2 separate regions of the Homo sapiens genome follow, and region 1 is linked to region 2. Evidence: promoter capture Hi-C in 16 types of primary human blood cells and fetal thymus (Javierre and others, 2016). All regions are on one chromosome and are shown on one strand. Each heading gives the region's core, a stretch centred on a gene start or on the middle of the fragment in contact. The rest is flanking DNA. Distances are from core to core; before and after follow the strand shown. Region 1 overlaps E2F6 (E2F transcription factor 6). Region 2 holds the start of SLC66A3 (solute carrier family 66 member 3).

Region 1 (6,217 bases), core at 2,583-5,082, 290 kb before region 2:
AGTACCCAGCCAACAGCTCCACCGACATCCGAACAAAGACCCAGCCAACTGGAGAACTTGACAAGCACTGCGGGCCAGGGTGGTCTTCAGGTGGCCCTTGCAGAGCCACAGGCTGGACCGATAGGAAGCTTTCACTGACGAAGAATACCTGTAATGACCAGAAGAGGGGGCTGTTGCCCACATGCAGACAACAGCACAAAGACACAAGGATTACGAAGACTGGGGGAGTCGTGACGGCTCCAAAAGAAACTAATAAAGCCCTAATAAGGGAAGGTTTCCTCCATTCTCGGACGGGTGCTTTCAGGTACAAGTTAGAGTTCCAGTTTATTCTTGAGAGGCTGAAAAAATTAGCCTTATGCCATTAACCTGAGAATACGTGTTCTTGACCAGGCATCTTCAGGGTTTTCTGAAGTAGTCAGATTGTGTATTCTTTTACGTATTTGCCTATCAGACCTTCACTTAGGTGTATTCACTTAGGTGTATTTCTCTCTCGTGTTCTTTTCCAGAAGAAAATCCTCAGCAAAGTGAAGAATTGCTTGAAGTAAGCAACTGATGGCATTTGAGAATTTATGTATCACTGAGTTTTTTGGGAATATCTTCGTGGAGAATTACGCATCAAATTTGATTCTCAGAGCAATAAATTATCCATGAAGTGCTCTCGTTCTCAGTAGCGGCATCATGGCCAGTAGTGTCTTTGAGGAGTTCACCACTTAGATTACTGAGTAATTGTGGTTTCCACATTTGAAAACAACTCCTTTTATAATTATTCACTGCTTTTTGTCAGTGAAATAGACATCTTGCCTCCTGAAGTAGCTTCATCACAGAGTGTCATGAAGACAGACAGTCAGGCTGAAATGGACAGTTCTTTGTGGACTCTACCCTTCCCTTCAAGGAGTATGTCATATATCACAAAAGAAATTGCCTTACACTGGTTCATGTTTGCAGTTACTGTTGTACATTGCATAGATGTACACACGAATTTAAATGTGATGTCTTTGTATATATCTGTATAATGTTGAGATTACTTACGAAATATGTCTGAGTGACACTTTTCACCCTTGTACAGCCAAAATAATGTATATATGGAAAGTGACAGACAAATTCTCTAATCTCTTTGGTACCTATAACTTATTAGAATCCTCTGGATGAGGGTTAGAAGAGACTTTTTCCAAACTTCTACATGTAGAAGTATCATAAATGTGCTACACATTTATGTTTGTGGATTTAATTAAAGTATTTTAATATGGTTTTCAGTGCTAAAATTGGAGTCAGATACTTCTTGGTTTTAAGCTGTCTACCTAATTGCTGTCTCCCAGCAGACTGGTGGCATGCCCAGTGGCTTTGGGGGCAAGGATAGAAATGCCATCAGGAAATAGCTGAATTCATTGTGAAACATGAATTCAGTCATGGTGATAATTGGAAACTCCTTTCAGGTTTTTGCAAGTAGATTTTGTAATGTTTGTGTATGCAGCCTTGCTGTTGAGTCAGTCCAAGGGGTTTTACTTAGGACAAGTTGTACCTTGCCCTCTCTCCAGCTCTGCTCCCACATTTTCACATACCTAGCTGTTTCTACCTCATTGGGTAAGTCATTTACCACTCTGTGCCTCAGTTTACTCTGTAGTTTACCATTAGACTGTGAGCTCCTTGAGGGACTTTGTCATAATCACTGTTACATCCCAGTGCCTCACACCATGCCTGGCCCTTAAGAAGTGCTCAATAAATGTCTGAACAAATAAGTGAGTGGAGTGAGTGAATTGTAAGATCAGAATAATAATATTTGGTTTGTCTATCGTACAAGATTCCTGTATCGTTTGAATATTGCTTTTAAAGAAATATTTGAAGCGACTTCAAATTCAGACTGTGTTTAAAAAGATTTAAAATCGGAATCCAAAATCAAAGTATTAAAAAATAATGCTGAGTGTTTAGGATTCACATACCTCTGAGCTCTGGTGGCTTTTGCCAGTCCTGTCCCTCTGCTGAGCACCAGCCCTTCCTGCAGCAGTCCTGCCGGTGTGTTTCTGTGCACCTGGGGATGAAGTGTGCTCCTCCCCCAGCGGTTAGCCTCAATGCTTTTCCTCCCTCTGTTTTATTATTTGAAATTAGCCAAAGAAAAGCTGCAGGGGGCACTGCTGATCATCACTGGACTGGTGGGTCGTACTGTTTGACAGAATAGGGAATACAGGAGGAGGAGCAAGCCTAGGGTAAAACTTAGGTTTGGGACATGCTTGATGAAAGCAAGAGTTGAGCAGGTTGTTGTGTGTATGTAGGTCAGGTGCTCAGCGGAAAAGTCTGAGCTGTGTAGTACGTCAGGCAGATGTCAGTTTAGATGCGATAGTTTAAGCCACAAGAGTAGGAGAGGTCATCTAAAGAGTACAGCAGGCCTAAGGGCATCTATATTTAAGGAGAAATACAGAAGAAGTCTCCTGAGAAGGAATAATGGGGCGGGTGGGGAGGGAGAAGGCAGTGTCCCAAAAACCAACAAAGGTTTTACCAAAGGTAATACCATCATTTCTGAGCAGCAGTTCCTTAACTTGTGAATGTGGCAAATGTTCTCCTTTACAAATTGTTCTGAAGGTAAAATGAGATCATGTAAACGAAAATCCTTTGTAAATTACAGATGTGTGTTATAAATGAAGTATCTCTCGAGTCACTCCATCTTCTGGCGTTGGGTCTCTGATTCTTAAAACGGATAAAATAAGCATGAACTCGTTTCTGGGCCCCTCCTCCTCACTAACCCTAACCTTTCCAACCTCACTGTCCCATCTCTGTGCGCACCGCTTCTTCCTTCAGAAACCTTGAGCGATCCGTGTTTCCTTCAGGCCGAAGTGCAGACTCTGGATATAGAAGGGCCCAAGGCTTGCTTACCAATCCTGCCTTGGTACCTGCCTTGCAGACCTTCACCCCAGTAAATTGGTCTCATCGCTACCTGAAGCACACAGTGAACTTTCCCATCTCCCTGCCTTTGCTCTTATCCTATCCTCTTCCTGTTCTCTGTGTTTCAAAATCGCATCCCTATTCTGGACCTGGCTTCACCCATGCCTCCCCTTTACTCCTACCCTGCATGCAGTTTATACACAGCACGCAGGTGGCCATCTTCCTTCCTCATAAGTTGCTGCGGCTACGTTCCCAGCTGCCATTCCATGTTGTCAGAGTGTAAGCTCATGTCTTAATAGGTATTTCTCATATTAATGTAGTGTATGATAGGGTTTGGCTGTGTCCCCACCCAAATCTCATTTTGAATTGCAGTTCCCATAATCCCCATGTGTCGTGGGAGGGACCAGGTGGAGATAACTGAATCATGGGAGCTGTTTCCCTACATCCTGTTCTCGTGATAGTAAGTTCTCACGAGATCTAATGGTTTAATAGAGGGCTTTTCCCTTCGCTCGGCTCTCATTCTCCCTCCTGCCACCATATGAAGAAAGACGTATTTGCTTCCTCTTCCACCATGATTGTAAGTTTCCTGAGCCAGCCATGCTGAACTATGAGTCAATTAAATCTGTTTCCATTATAAATTACCCAGCCTTGGGTATGTCTTTGTTAGCAGTTTGAGAATGGACTAATACAGTAAATTGGTACCACAGAGAGTGGGGTGCTGCTGTAAAGATACCCAAAAATGTGGAAGCAACTTTGGAACTGAGTAACAGGCAGAGGTTGGAACAGTTTGGAGGGTTCAGAAGAAGACAGGAAAATGTGGGAAACATTTAGAACTTCCTAGAGACTTGTTGAATAGCTTTGACAAATTGCTGATAGTGATATGGACAGTGAAGTCCAGGCTGAAGTGGTCAAGATGGAGATGAAGAACCTATTGGAAGCGGGAGTAAAGGTCACTCTTGCTATGGAAAGAGACTGGTAGCATTTTGCCTCTGCCGTAGAGATGCATGGAACTTTGAGAGAGATGAGTTAGGGTATCTGGCAGAAGAAATTTCTAAGCAGCAAAGTGTTCGAGAGGAAGCAGAGCATAAAAGTTTGGAAAATTTTGCAGCCTGATGATGGGATAGAAAAGAAAACTCCATTTTCTGGGGAGAAATTTAAGCTGGCTGCAGAAATTTGCATAAGTAACGTCAAATGTTAATCACCAAGAGAATGGGGAAGATGTCTCCAGGGCATGTCAGAGACCTTCCAGCAGCCCCTCCTATCACAAGCCTGGGGGCCTATAAGGGCCCCCCCCCCACCCCCCGCTCTATGCTGCATTGGGACATGGTGCCCTGCATCCTAGCTTCTTCAGCTCCAGCCTTGGCTAAAAGGGACCAACATAAAGCTCAGGCTGTTGCTTCAGAGGGTGCAAGCCCCAAGCCTTGGCTTACACATGGTGTTGGGCCTATGGGTGCACAGAAGTCAAGAATTAAGGTCTGGGAACCTCTGCCTAGATTTCAGAGGATGTATGGAAACACCTGGATGTCCAGGCAGAAGTTCGCTCTCTGGAGAACCTCTGCTAGGGCAGTGTGGAAGGGAAATACGGGGTTGGATCCCCCACACAGAGTCCCGATTGGTGCACTGCCTGGTGGAGCTGTGAGAACAGGGCCACCGTCCTCCAGACCCCAGAATGGTAGCTTGCACTGTGCACCCGGAAGAGTCCCAGACACTCAACACCAGCCTGTGAAAGTAACCAAGGTGGGGGTGGGGGTATACCCTGCAAAGCCACAGGAGTGGGGCTGCCCAAGGCCATGGGAGCCCACCTCTTGCATCAACATCACCTGGATGGGAGACACGGAGTCAAAGGAGATCATTTTGGAACTTTAAGGTTTAATGACTGCCGTATTGGATTTCGGACTTGCATGGCACCCGTAGCCTCTTTGTTTTGGCCAATTTCTCCCATTTGGAATGGGTGTATTTACCCAATCCCTGTACCCCCATTGTATCTAGGAAGTAACTAACTTGCTTTTGGTTTTACAGGCCCATAGGTGGAAGGGACTTGCCTTGTCTGAGATGAGACTTTGGACTTGGAGTTTTGAGTTAATGCTGGAATGAGCTAAGACTTTGGGTGACTGTTGGAAGGGCAGGGTTATGTTTGGAATTATGAGGACATGAGATTTGGGAGGGGCCAGGGACAGAATGATATGGTTTGGCTGTGTTCTCACCCCAATCTCATCTTGAATTATAGTTCCCATAATCCCCACATGTTGTGGGAGGGACCAGATGGAGAAAATTGAATCATGGGGGCTGTTTCCTCCATCCTGTTCTCGTGATAGTAAGTTCTCACAAGATCCGATGCTTTTGTAAGGGGCTTCCCCCTTGGATCGGCTCTCATTCTTCTCTCTCCTGCCACTATGTGAAGAAGGACATGTTTGCTTCCCCTTCCACCATGATTGTAAGTTTCCTGAGGCCTCAGCCATGCTGAACTGTGAGTCAATTAAACCTCTTTCCTTTATAAATTACCCAGTCTTGGGTATGTCTTTATTAGCAGCATGAGAATGGACTAATACAATGTTCAGTAAGTTGTTGCTGGTTGGTAAGTGACCTGACCTGACTACATCATTCGACCCAACTCCCAAGAAATTTTTTTTTTTTTTTGTAACGGAGTCTCACTCTGTCACACAGGCTGGAGTGCAGTGGTATGATCTCAGCTCACTGCAACCTCTGCCTCCCAGGTTCAAGTGATTCTCGTGCCTCAGACTCCAGAGTAGCTGGGATTTCAGGCATGGGCCACCACAGCTGGCTAATTTTTGTGTTTTTTTAGTAGAGGTGGGATTTCACCACGTTGGCCAGGCTGGTCTCGAACTCCTGACCTCAAGTGATCTGCCTGCCTCTGCCTCCCAAAGTGCTGGGATTACAGACATGAGCCACCACACCTGGCCCTGAGAATTTTTTTTAAAAGATGACTTCAGGCCGAGCGTGGTGGCTCACGCCTGTAATCCCAGCACTTTGGGAGGCTGAGGCAGGCAGGTCACAAGGTCAAGAGATCAAGACCATCCTAGCCAACATGGTGAAACCCATCTGTACTAAAAATACAAAAATTAGCCGGACCTGGTGGCACGCACCAGTCGTCCCAGCTACTCAGGAGGCTGAGGCAGAAGAATCACCTGAACCTGGGAGGTAGAGGTTGCAGTGAGCCGAGATTGCACCACTGCGTTCCAGCCTGGCAACAGAGCGAGACTCCATCTAAAGTTAAAAAAATAAATAAATAAATAAAAAATAAAAAAAAAACGATGACTTCAGTAACTAACGGAATTTGTAATGAAAAAAAGATTGCCAAATTTGCATTTTGCTAAAAGTTAAA
Region 2 (6,123 bases), core at 3,239-5,738:
CCAGTTGCCTTCCAGAAGAGCTGCCCGGTTGAGAGGGCAGTGGGGGAAAGCGTGAAGAACCACCCTCAATTTCGCTAAGAAGACTCCGGCTGTGAGGATGCTGCGAAGGCCACAGGGTCCCACATTCTCAGAAGAAAAGGCAGAGCTTCCTGCCTCCCCCTCACACCCAGCCATCTCCCTTCAGGACCGGAATCCCTGTGGTCTCCTGGGGCTACCTGTTTGTCTCATCACCCAGCTTTTTGGCTCCCTCCCTCTCACCTGTGTGTTCAGACCACTCAGGTCAGGAAGAAAGGGGAGCCGGAACCATGGGACTTCAACACACAGGAGGGGCCCCCCAGGGTCTCCAATCTCCTAAGCTGGGAAGGAATCCTGGAAAAGTCCGATTCACAAACAGGCTGTGCCTCCCTGGCCTGTTTCTGACAGTGCACAACTTAGCTGGGGGCGGAGTCAGAGGAGGTCACAGTGTTGCCCTGAGCACGAGGGCCTCCCACAGGCCTGGTCCCCGAGTGCGGGCCCCCACCGTGCCCAGCAGGGTCCCCACCCCCAGCTGCCTGCAGGCCCTCCGGGTGCTGTGCAGCTGAGCCACCTCCCAGCTTCAGGGACAAGCGGTGCCTCTGCCCTGCCCTGCCGCAGGGACTCTCCTCCTGCCAGCCTCCTGAGCAGCCCCCTCTGTTCCCCTGGGAGATTGAGCCCAGGGGGGCTGGCAGAGGGGGAGGCTGCACCCCAGCCCCTCTGTGGGGCCACAGCCAGCCACTGAGTGCTGAAGAACAAAAGCTATGGGGGTCTTCACCATCGAAGTAAGTGTGTGCTGACCCCTGGGACGCAGCCACAGTCCACAGGCCAGGCCTGAGAACCTGGGGATGTCAGAGCCCGTTCTCACCTTCAGGGGTCATCCATGCTGGCCTCCACAACTTACAGACCACTTGGGGAAATGGAGGCCCATAGACACCAAGAACATACAAGATGAAGAGCCTGGATTTCCCGAGGCTGATCTGGATGCAGCCGTTGCTGCCCCTGCAGGTTTTGCCGTCTACTCCCTGCTTTCCCTGGGATTCAAACTCCCCCCATCCCTGCAGCCTGGGGAGGTGGGGTGGGGACAGTGTCTTTCCTTTAGTTTTTAATGTTTCTTTTTTTTTGAGATGGAGTCTTGCTCTGTCGCCCAGGCTGGAGTGCAGTGGCGCGATCTCAGTCACTGCAACCTCCACCTCCCGGGTTCCAGCGGTTCTCCTGCTCAGCCTCCCGAGTAGCTGAGACTACATGTGTGCCACTACACCTGGCTAATTTCTTTTTTTTGAGGCGGAGTCTTGCTCTGTCACCCAGGCTGGAGTGCAGTGGCACGATCTCGGCTCACTGCAAGCTCCGCCTCCCGGGTTCACGCCATTCTCCTGCCTCAGACTCCCAAGTAGCTGGGACTACAGGCGCCAGCCACCACGCCCAGCTAATTTTTTGTATCTTTAGTAGAGACAGGGTTTCACCGTGTTAGCCAGGATGGTCTTGATCTCCTGACCTCGTGATCCGCCGGCCTGGGCCTCCCAAAGTGCTGGGATTACAGGTGTGAGCCACTGCACCCAGCCTACACTGGTTAATTTTTGTGTTTTTAGTAGAGATGGGGTTTCACCATGTTGGCAAGGCTGGTCTTGAACTCCTGACCTCAGGTTATCTGCCCGCCTCGGCCTCCCAAAGGGCTGGGATTACAGGCATGAGCCACCATGCCTGTCCCTTTAAAGTTTCTTTTAATAAGTAATCGCTATAGTGCTTATCATAATAAAATCATGCCAGCCGGGCATCTGACACAGCCCCATTTGTTTCCATTCCCATCTGCTCCATGCAGCCATTGGAGTTTTCTCCCTCAACACCTACTAGAGGGTTAAACAAAACGTACCCCCACCCAGGCTGGGGGACAAGTGACCTGGAGCAAGGGGTGGGCTCCAAAGGCATCCTACCCAGAGGCCAAGGCTCTACAGCCTAAGGGTCCACCGTGGGAGGGCCGCAGTCCATGGAAGGCTGCAGGCAGGGCAGGTTGGATGAATCTTGTGCTCCAGGAGGCTCCTGGCTGCAGAGAGCAGGGAGGCAGAGCCCAGCAGAGCCCTGGAGGCAGGAGAAGCAGCAAGGTTGGGAACTTGCGAGGGGGAAGGCTCCAGCTACAAGGAATGCCCCTGGGTGGCAGAGGCAGGTCCCTGGGCAGAGGCTCCTGCCCTTCACACCAAGCCACACTAAAAAGGCTTTTCTGGCATTATTAAGACACACTTCATGCTCCAATTGACTCAGTGCTCTCAAAACCAGGCTCTTAGTTTGCTCAAATGGAGACCCAAAGAGGGCCCGTGCCCTCCAGGTGGCTGACTGCGACAGCCCTGGGGTTCCTTCTGCTCTAACTCCGGCTGCTGCCTGATCTGGTCAGGGGCCCGGGGGCCCAGCTGGCAAGCATGGCCAGCCCCAGGTGGGCCTCCCAGGCAAGGCTGGGAAGGGCATGAGGGAGGCAGGCAGGGAGACAGGAGGGCCAGGAGGATGGGTCCTGACACAGCCAAGCCCATTTTACAGAAGTCTGTGTGCCTGGCCCTGGCCCTGGCTTGGAGGCTGCAGAGCTGGTGCACCAGCCCCGACAGAGCCCCCTTTACCTGCACGTGATCAACTGCAAGACCCTTAGACAGGCCAGCAGGGATGGCAGCAAGCTGCTGCCCCACCCAACCCTTGAGCTCCCATGCCCAGGAAGATCCTTCCACTGCCAGAGGTCTAGCTTTCACTAAGGTGAGCTGGGAGAGGTGACAGCTGGCAGATCTAATAGGAGCCCTCACCTGCGTATCTCTGAGGGTTTGCATTTTTCAAGCAATGCTGCAAAAGTGGTGGAAATGCAGGCCTAGGGGCTGGCGGCAGGAGGGAATCTATAGACTCTACAGACAGCCTGGCTTCTTTTCCTTCATGGGTCCAGCTTCAGCTTCCCCAGCTCAGGGACCTAGCAAGGGGCCGAGGCCAAATCCCACTCCTGGCTTTCATGCCCTTGTCCCCTCTCCCACCTGAACAGTCACCACAGCCACTTCCAGCCTGTGTCCTTTGCCACAACCTCATCGCTCCAGCCTCTCTGCTCCCAGCCTGGTGGTGGCACCAACCTGAAACGCATGCTGCCCACCTCCCCTGGGTGCCTCTCAACCCTGCCATCCAGCCTGGGACCCCCCCCTCCCCACCCCGCAGGGTAGAGTCACTCACAAGCCTGGAAGAGGTCACAGTCCCTCCCACTGCAAGCCTTTCCCAAAAATTTCCCCTCAAAGCCCCCTATTGGATGACTGTGCCCAGGGCCGGGCTCCATAGGGCCGGCGCGGGGTCCAAAGCCTGAGTGGGACCCCTCACCCTCCCACACCTGAGGTCTCCTCTTTCTCCCCCGCACCCCTTGGCTTCTTCCCATCCTGTATGCCGCACCCCCCACCCCGCCCACCAGGAAGGCTTGTGTGGAGGACCAGGCTTCAGACCCCACTGGGTGATGGCGGGGGGCAAAGGGGAAGGCCTGGCCTGGCCAGGGGGAAGGGGCGAGACCACTAGGTTGAGGTATGTGTTTTCCTATTGTTGGGGCTCAAAAATGATACCCCAAAAGTTTGGCGCTCTGGCATGATGAATACTTTGAATAGGAAAGCCTTAGAAGCTGCCTCAGAATCAAGGATTTAACGACCTTTCCGTCACCCCTTCCCAACTGCAGAGACTCTCCAACTTCCTTACAGATGACTAAGGAAACTTCTTTCTACAAGAAATGCAATTGTCTTAAGACCCTCTCCCAAGGAATCTCATTAAATAACCAGGAAAGATTCCCCACCAATCACCGGGAGAAGAGAAGAGATTCATACATTCTTAGTTCAACCCCTTATTTCACAGGTGAGGAAACCGAGGCCCGAGAACGAGGTTGACGGTGCGTGGTGAGTTTAGGGACAATGAATATGACAGCCTCGAGGTGCAAATGGCCTTGCTCAGGGCCAGCAGGTTTTGTCACTAGCGCACCAAGGGCTGCCTCCGCTGGGTCTGTTTTCTCATCTGTAAAATGGGCGTGCGCAATCAATTCGTGCCACGCGGGGCTTGGTGAGAAACAATGTACGCGGGTGGCGGGTGGCCGTGGGAAGAGCACCCCGAGCCCCTAGGCTCCCTAGTTCACCCTCGGCCGCCCAGCTGCGACGCCGGCGCGCGGGGATCATCCCCGCCCTACTTCGAGCCGAGGCTCTCCTGGGCTCCCAGCCGGCAGCAGCTGCGAGGGGGCAGGAGGCAGCCCCGGCCGCCCCGGGCCTTACCCTGCCAGCTCCAGAAGTAAACTCGGAAGGCTGAGGCCCCGCGCGCTGCGCGCCGCTAGCACAGCGGAGATCTGCGGCAGCTTCAGCGCGGCGCACACGCCCAGCGTGCTCCAGTTACACAGCCCCAGCAGCGCCGCCTCCATAGCGCCACGGGCGCGGGCACCTGGGCGGCCGCAGCGAGAAGGGACCGCTCAGCCTCGGCGGCGCAGCTCTGCCGAAGCCTTCCGCCTTCCCGGGATCCGCCCGGGACCACCCGGCCAGGGCCCGCCCCTCCGCGCGCCGCCAGGCCCCGGACCCGCCTCGCTCCGCCCCTCCCCTGGACGCACCCCGCCCCCGGGCCCGCCCCGCCCCTCCCGCCCGGGCCCGCCCCGCCCCGCCCCTCCCGCCCGGGCCCGCCCCGCCCCCTGGCCAGCCTCATCTCGCCTCGCCTACGGGCCCGCCCGGGCTCGCTCAGTCCTCGGACTACCCTCATCTCGCCCCGCCCCCAGATTCGCCCCCTCCCGGTCGGCCTCACCTAGCCCAATCCCGTGGCCAACCTCGCCTCGCCCCGCCCCTCCTCGCCCCGCCCCTCCCCTCCTAGCCCCGCCCCGGGCGACAGTCCCACCCTGGCCTGCGGGCTCCACCAGCAGCTGCTTCGCATTTCCGCGTTCTTGCCACCCGATAGTTTAGCCGCCGCCGGGAGCCGCCCTGGAAGTCCGGCTTTTCCACGGGTTGGGTGGACCGAGAGGCAAATGGCCCCGGGGGATGGGCCATTCTGCCGGGATTTTTCCCTCCCTGCAAGTGTTTTAGTTTCTCTCACTAAGCATTTCAGGAGTTAAAGCCTCCTGCTTAAGGGCTGAGTGCACCCTCCCGACTTACAGGTGGGGAACCAGGCTGGAGAGACTTTCTGGGACCAGAGCCCCAGGGTCGCCTCATTTGTGCCCTTTCAGAGCACGCGGCCTGTCTCCAGCCTGGGACTGAAGGCTTCCCTCCTAGCGGCGTGGGCCCTGAGGGGCCACCGGAAGCCTTGAACTTGAGCACTTCACAGTGAAACTGTTTCTTAAGGATTTCTCCTGATAAAGTAACTTGGACGTGGCCGTCTAAGCCACAAACTGAGGGAAAGGGAAGGACGCATTTTCCAACCTCTGAAAATCGCCTGTGTATTAGGGCCTGGTTATGAAGCAGGCAAAAAAGCACCAAAATGCAATGCCAGAATCCACGATCCCTGGTTTTGTGCCATAAATCTCAGCCGGGAAGTGTGAGGGACGGGAGCTGGGTCAGCTTCGGAGTTCGGAATTCTGGCCGAGGCTCTTTCTCTCCAGCCTCACCGGCCCATCACCTCCGCCTATGGAAAAAAAAAAACAGGTGCTGAGTCCTGCCTCCCAAGTCTAAATGAGAAAAGGATGTTCAGAAGGGAACCCTTAAAGGAAACGGCTTGGACCTGCCCTGGCTAGATCGATACTGATCGTTATTGACCCCGCGAAGCGGGAAGATTGCTTGAGGCCAGGAGTTCAAGACCAGCCTGAGCAACATAGGGAAACCCCCGCCTCTACTAAAAATACAAAAATTAGCCGAGCGTGGTGGCGCGTGCCTGTGGTCCCAGCTACTCGGGAGGCTGAGACAGGAGGATGGCTTGAACCCAGGAGGCGGAGGTTGCAGTGAGTCGAGATCGCGCCACTTCACTCTAGCCTGGGAGACAGAGCCAGACCCTGTCTCAAAAATAAATAAATAATATGTATATAAATTTTTTGAAGAAGAAAATAGAGAAGAGCTTTTTTTTTTTTTTGAGACGGAGTTTCACTCTTGTCGCCCAGGCTGGAGTGCAGTGGCACGATCTCTGCTCACTGCGACCTCCACCTCCGGGGTTCAAGTGATTCTC

The links. The method cuts DNA at HindIII sites, captures the fragments that hold promoters and counts their contacts. A CHiCAGO score of 5 or more calls a contact.
Region 1: a contact is called between a fragment that was not itself captured here and the fragment with the promoter of SLC66A3 in region 2, in 1 of 17 cell types (M2 macrophages). The highest score is 7.1, in M2 macrophages.

Annotation. Positions count from the first base shown.
Region 1 is chr2:11,440,813-11,447,029 of GRCh38, reverse strand. It overlaps E2F6 (E2F transcription factor 6), which reads left to right. Exons shown (of 7, transcript NM_198256.4): 7 at 507-2,655. The coding sequence ends at 553. Among named protein-coding and RNA genes, the nearest start is that of E2F6, 22 kb to the left of the region's middle. The HindIII fragment of the contact is 7,403 bases long and covers 131-6,217 here.
Region 2 is chr2:11,153,832-11,159,954 of GRCh38, reverse strand. It overlaps SLC66A3 (solute carrier family 66 member 3), which reads right to left and starts at 4,488. Exons shown (of 7, transcript NM_152391.5): 1 at 4,266-4,488. The coding sequence starts at 4,408. It also overlaps a transcript of CIMIP5 not described here. RefSeq lists silencers at 1,163-1,411, 4,072-4,311, 4,422-4,901. The HindIII fragment of the contact is 10,263 bases long and covers 1-6,123 here.